Regions from separate parts of the Homo sapiens genome. Here region 2 is linked to region 1. Evidence: promoter capture Hi-C in 16 types of primary human blood cells and fetal thymus (Javierre and others, 2016). All regions are on one chromosome and are shown on one strand. Each heading gives the region's core, a stretch centred on a gene start or on the middle of the fragment in contact. The rest is flanking DNA. Distances are from core to core; before and after follow the strand shown. Region 1 holds the start of ZSCAN25 (zinc finger and SCAN domain containing 25). Region 2 overlaps ZNF655 (zinc finger protein 655).

The links. The method cuts DNA at HindIII sites, captures the fragments that hold promoters and counts their contacts. A CHiCAGO score of 5 or more calls a contact.
Region 2: a fragment that was not itself captured here is called in contact with the fragment with the promoter of ZSCAN25 in region 1 in 1 of 17 cell types (naive CD4 T cells); the score reaches 5.0 in naive CD4 T cells.

Annotation. Positions count from the first base shown.
Region 1 is chr7:99,615,077-99,618,224 of GRCh38, reverse strand. It overlaps ZSCAN25 (zinc finger and SCAN domain containing 25), which reads right to left and starts at 1,279. Exons shown (of 8, transcript NM_145115.3): 1 at 1,209-1,279. RefSeq lists enhancers at 1,244-1,563, 1,154-2,133. The HindIII fragment of the contact is 2,601 bases long and covers 167-2,767 here.
Region 2 is chr7:99,561,302-99,564,751 of GRCh38, reverse strand. All of the region lies in intron 2 of ZNF655 (zinc finger protein 655), which reads right to left. Among named protein-coding and RNA genes, the nearest start is that of ZNF655, 4.4 kb to the right of the region's middle. The HindIII fragment of the contact is 3,376 bases long and covers 1-3,088 here.

The DNA.
Region 1 (3,148 bases), core at 30-2,529:
ATGAGTCCTATTTACCTCCAAGTGGATTATGCGGAAGACCTAGACTGGGAAGACAGACTTGGAAGTCCAAAGCACCAGGGGAAGGAGATCCTGCTTGTCAGAAAACGGAAAGATCACCTGACTGGAGCAGAGAATGGGCAGCTGGCAGGAGGCACACCCCAAAGCTTCTGCTAAATATTCTATTGTGAGTTTGTGTATTTATCTACCCCCACTTAAACCAAGTTTATATTTTCAGTCTATTCATTGACTCTGCAACATTGAGATTTCTCTTTCATTCCTTTCTAGCTATTGCATTGGTTCACTCCACTAGTGCATTTAATGCACTACAGTGCAAATGTTTACCCATGTGTCTCCCTCTAACAGATTCCCTGGAGGCAAGAAAGATCCTCATTCATCTTTTATCTCTGCCATTTGACAAATAGAAATTGCCCCATTGCTATTCTTTATCTCCCCCCACCCATTGTGACTCTTTTGTTTTGTTTCTGAGACAGGATCTCAGGGTTTTATCACCCCAGCTGGAGACCAGTGGTGCGATCACTGCAGCCTTTGCCTCCTAGGATCAAGCGATCCTCCCACCTCAGCCTCCCGAGTAGCTGGGACTACTGGCGAGTGCCACCATGACCAGCTAATTATTTATTTTTGTAGAGACAGGGTCTCCCCATGTTGCCCAGGCTGGAGTGCAGCGGCATGAATGTAAGTCAGTGCAACCTTGAACTCCTGGGCTCAGGCGATCCTCCTGCCTCAGCCTCCCGAGTAGCTGGGACCTCAGGCGCGTGCCACCACGCCCGGCTACTTTTCAATTTTTGTAGAGACAGGGTCTCGCTATGTTGACCAGGCTGGCTCATCACTATTCTTTAAATAAGTGTCCTATGTGATTACTTTCACTTTGCACAGAGTTCTGCTTTGGTTCAAGATCTCTTCGGGTTCGTGGCCAGCCCTGCACTAAGCCAAGCCTGGCAGAGCGGGATCAGCCTCGCTCCTACCTGAGCCTACAGCGCGGCGGCCCCTCAGCGTCCAGACCCGCAGGGCCTCGGGGCCGCTGAAGGCAGCTCCTGAGAGACTTGCCGCCCTCAGCCGGGGCTGAGCGGAGGGAGACGGGCTCTACTGCAACCCCGCTGCCGCCGAGCCCCGTAGCGGCACCAAAACCCGTCCCCGCGCCCGTTTACCACTTCGCCCGCCACCCGCTGCGGCCCTGAAGAGGCTCTCACCCGCCGCGGCCCTGAAGGGCCTCTCACCCGCTAGGGTCGCCAGTGCTATCCGCGGTCCGGAAGTGAGCTGCGGACGCTGTTAGACAGGTGCGTAAGGAAAGACTCGCTTCCGTGTCCTCTCTAGGATGCTCGGAGGTCTCGGCGGATGCGTCTCGATGGTTGCTGATCCCAGCCTGCTGTTCCGAACCCGGCGAGGCGAAGACCACCAGGGCTTCCCCAGGATTGACTGCCCAGCTCGAGGCGCTCTGTGGCTAGGCCCCTTCCACTTCCGTGCCATTTCACCTGCTTGCCCTCCGTGGAAAGGACTCGGTGCATCGCCAGATACACTACTGGACACAGCACCTGCCCCAAGGGGCTTTAGAGTCCAGTCGGTCAATGCGCGACTATTCCGGCTGCGAGGGCCTTGCGCGAGGCGTAGGGGCAGAGGAGATAGGGGGCGCACTGGATCTAACCGGCTCACTTAAGAGGCTCCTGACCCCGGGTAGTGTGCGTGCGTGTGTGTATGTGTAGTCAGGGAAGGCTTCCTGGAGGAGCCAGCATCGGAGCTGTTTTTTGTGGGGGGTTTTTGTTTGTTTGTTTGTTTGTGTTTTTTGAGAAAGAGAGAGAGAAGTCTTGTTCTGTCTCCCAGGATGGAGTGCAGTGGTGAGATCATAGCTCACTGCAACCTCGAAGCCCTGAGTTCAAGCAATCCTCCCACCTCAGTCTCCTGGGTAGCTGGGACTTTTTTTCAATTTTTTGCAGAGAGGGGGATCTCTCTATGTTGCCCAATCTGGTCTCCAACTTCTGGACTCAAGCGATCTTCCCCCCTTGGCCTCCCAAAGTGCTAGGACTGCAGGCGCAAGCCACCGCGTCCAGCCTGAAGGCAGTCTGTCTCAACTGGGTGGCCCAGTGTTACTCCAGAATCCACTCAGGAAACAGGAAACCCTCTTGTCTTACTCTTCTCCAGCACTTTGCAAAGTGTCTGGTACAATATTTGCTAAAAATATACACTTATAGAGTAAATGAACTCCTAGAATATAACATAGGTGTTAGACCATCTCACTTTATCCTCCATGTCTCTGTCCCACTTTCATATTTTTCTTGTCTGCCCATATTTGACTTGGGTTTATGTCTTCACCTTTTTATTAATAATCCACTTTTCAGCTGTTTCTAATGTGCTACAAAATCCACAGTTGTTGTTTTTTTGTTTTGTTTTGTTTTGTTTTTTAAGAGACGAGGTCTTGCTGTGTCACCTAGGCTGGAGTACAGCGGTGCTATCATAGCTCACTACAGCTTCCAACTCCTGGGTTCAAGCAATCCACCTCAGCTTCCCAAATAGCTGGGACTACAGGCATGAGCCACCACACCCAGCTAATCTTTAAAAAATGTTTTGTAAGGACAGGGTCTCACTATGTTGCCCAGGCTAGTCTTAAACTCCTGGGCTCGAGCAATCCTCCCCACTTGGCCACCCATATTTTTGTTTTAATTAATATATTTTTTCCATTTCTAGAATTTCTATTTGATTTTTTCCAAATATTCTAGATCGATCTTTTAAAAGAATTTACCGATATGTTTAAGCTTTTCTTTGTACATAGTAAATATAGTTGAGCCTGATAATTCTGAGATCTGAAGTCCCCTCAGATATCTTTCTGTGATCTGCTATTTCCACTGTTTTTGATGGTGCCACTTCCACCAGCAGTACCTAACAGCATCCATTTCCCATATCTCATCATCTCTGCCATTATCCAGCTTTAATTTTTGCCAATTGACAGGTGAAGTAAATGTTACCTCATTTTTTAATTTGCATGTTCTTCATTATAAGTGAGGTCAGTCATTATTCCTACTTTCATTAACTTCTTGCCTTCCCTTTTCTGTGAACGGACTTTTCTTTGTGTTTCTATTAAGCTGTTTATCTCTTTCTTATTGATTTATGAGTTCTGGGGACATTATATAATGTCCCT
Region 2 (3,450 bases), core at 151-2,650, 54 kb after region 1:
TGCATTAAACTGCTACAAAGTTTCTTTACTCCAAAAAGTAGACAGGTTAACTGTTGGAAACTCTGTAATTATTAGATAAAATTAACAGTACTTTACAATTATATGTATGTCACTTTACAGTTTACAAAGTTATTAAGTAGATATTCAATTTGATGCCCTGAAATAAATTTAACTTCTTTGCCCTCCCTTCTCCCCTCCATCAAGGACAGAGTAAGGAACACTTAATCAGGAAAGGCAATATAATTGCATCAATCTGTACAGAACCACAAAGAATAAAGGGTAGGAAGGTAGGACCTTGAAGAGGGCCACAGGGACTTCAAGGAAGGAGGAAACCAGAATGTTAAACATGAGGGAAGCCCAGGGTTCACAGGAGAGTTAGGCACCATACGGGGCAGGTTGTGTTCGCCACATAAAAGGAGGGGCACACAGCATAAGTTTCACATTCTAAAATAATATGAAAAGACCATAACTGAAGAGCTGAATTTGGAATTTCTGGTTTTTCACAATACAAGTAGATGATGACCACCAACCATGGTTTCTGAATGAACTGGGTTCAAAACATATCTGGTTGCAACAGAGGGCTTCCTTGGACCCTAACATTTGAAATTAAACAGAGGTAATTTGAGGAGCTGCGATTTTACACAGTGGTGGCATCCTGGGGAGCTTCTATTCCATCAGTCAATTTTAATATCTCACAATCGTGGAAAAGGAGTTTCCGAGCAGGGACGAGCAATATCGATGGGAAGCCGATACTTGGGCCATCTCTTGGAGATTCCTGCTGTAAGGACGGCAAGTGTTTCTCCAGAGAAAGCACTTGCCTGGGTATGACTCAGGGCCGGGCAGGAATTCACACTATGAATCCGGGTGGTGGGAAGGCGGAGAAGTATGCCTACAAAGATTAAAGAGCCAGGAATGGAAAACACACTAAAAACCGTCCCAGTGGGCAGCCTGCCTCCCCACAAATAAGAAGACCTTGAATCCTGAGCATAATCAGGGAGACAAAGCAATGCCCTGGATGCCACCAGCATAGACAAAGCCAACGGAAAAAAAAAAAAGAAAAGAAAATGCATGATTCAGTATTTACACACACAAAAAGAAGAGTGCAGAAGCAAGCAAGAAACTAAAGAAAAAGGAGGCTGGGTGCGGTGGCTCATGCCTGTAATTCCAGCACTTTGGGAGGCCAAGGAAGGTGGATCACTTGAGGTCAAGAGTTCGAGATCAGCCTGACCAGCATGGTGAAACCCCGTCTCTACTAAAAATACAAAATTAGGCGGGCGTGGTGGCCCATGCCTGTAATCCCAGCTACTTGGGAGGCTGAGGCAGGAGAATCGCTTGAACCTGGAAGGCAGAGGTTGTAGTGAGTTGAGATTGCACCACTGCACTCCAGCCTGGGCAACAAGAGTGAAACTCCATCTAAAAATAAAATAAAATAAAAAATATAATATAATATAAAAAATAAACTAAAGAAAAAGGAACAATGCTCACACCAAGGGAGCTGCCGACAAACCCCACTGATGCTTCCCAGCAGCACTACAGCTTGGCTAATCCCAGCTTCCCACTGTACCTTTCAAAATGACAAGGGAGAGACATGAGTTAAGCATTGACCCCACCTCAGCATGGGGTAAACATCTGAGATTTCTGCTGCCCTGGGTGTGGTTACGTGGGATTACCATTCTGGGTGACTCACTGAAATGTACTCACAGTGAGTCATGCCTTCAAATGACATCTCAAGTTCTGCCTGCTTGGAGATACATCTGGGGATCTTAAGGGGTGAGGGACTACTCAACAAGAAGGAATTTAGCCTGTCTTTTTAAATAAACGGCATTTCTTTTTCCTAGAAAAATGGGAAATTCTTCAATTCTCTAATACAGGGACACTGAGATAACAAAGAGGAAAGTGTCTGGTTGGAGGTTGGGAGGCCACCCTGGGGTCTCTCCTACAAAAATGGAAAAGAAAAGAACGGTGAGAAATCAAGCAAAGCACAAGAAAGTTTCCCTTTGCTAAAAGGGAAAAGATGCCCCACAATGGCCATAAACATGAACTGGGGATAAGGAGGAGAATGTCTCTTCTTGGCACCCCCAAACAAACGTTAATTACCCCTCCCGGAGAAGACGATGTGAAAGATAAGGATTCAGAGGTTCTAAGTCCTGGAATCTAAGCCACACTCTACAGACCTTCTCAGAGACCTTATACTTAGGAAGAAACAAGAAAGTAAAGAAATTCAAATAGATAAACCGAATAATAAGGAAGTCCTTACCCAGTGAGACCACGTTCCCATAATTCTCTAACATCACTTCTCTGTAGAGGTCCCTCTGAACAGGGTCCAGGTATCCCCATTCCTCTCGAGTAAGGTGCACAGCCACATCCTCGAATGTCACAAACTCCTGAAATAACACATCCTGGCTGCTCTGAGGAATGAGAACACTGTAGCACCATGGCCAGAGAATGAAGATCATAGAGAGGGTATCCACTGTGTACTTACGTTGAGGAGGAGGGAGAACAGATTAGAACCTACGGAATAAAGCCCATAACCCTTAAACATCTAATAAGCACCCATCACACAACCATGGACAAAGAGAAAACAGAGTTTGCTCATGGCACTGGGGAGATGGGAAGTTGGTTTATGTGAAGTCCAGGTCTCCGAAGAGGATCAATTCCCAAACTGGAGTCTGCTATTGAAAAAAATTCCAGGCAAGGTCTACAGATGGGATGAGAGAGAGGCCACACTCCATCAGTAGCAATAGTCCCTGAGGAAAAGCAGAGGGTTCCTCAGCTCACCTGGTACCTGGCTGTCAAGAGCGCAGCTGCCTGGTCTCCTGGGCTTCCCTCACGGGGAAGAGCAGGCACCTGAGGAACAGGTGGAGCTGAGGGAGGAGAAAGGAGTGAAGAGTGAGAGCAGCCCTTTCCCAGGGCTCCCTTTCAGAGGAGGCCTCTCCAGCCCAAGGGGTGTCAGCAGGACCCTCCTCAATACTCTAGTAAAACCAATGAACATTTTTCAGGTATTGGGTGTGTCTACTCTGCTTCGTCTCAGTACTTGCATGCCTTATGCGTGTTTTGACCTGTGATACAGGATTTTCTTAGGAAAGCTTGTATTTCACTTTATCTTCATCACATGACAGTCCTCTTACAGAAGAGTAAGACTATACCTGTTTTGCAGATGGGCAAAGCAAAGCATAAAGACTTGTGGGGACTTGTCCTGGGCTAGGGTTATTTAGCAGACTTCTGACCCTTTCCAGGCACTGTTCTAGACACTTGATCAGCGTTTCTCTTGTGAATGGGTGCTGTCTCAACCAGTGTGTAAGGCCCCCAAGAACAAGAAAGGGTCATCTGTTTCCTCGAAATCTTTTCCACAGTCCCACAATCCCCCACAGCACTCTACACATTGTGGCACTTGATCTGTGTGGGTGACACACAAGTTATTTCAGGCACTAGAGTTAACCACAGGCAATC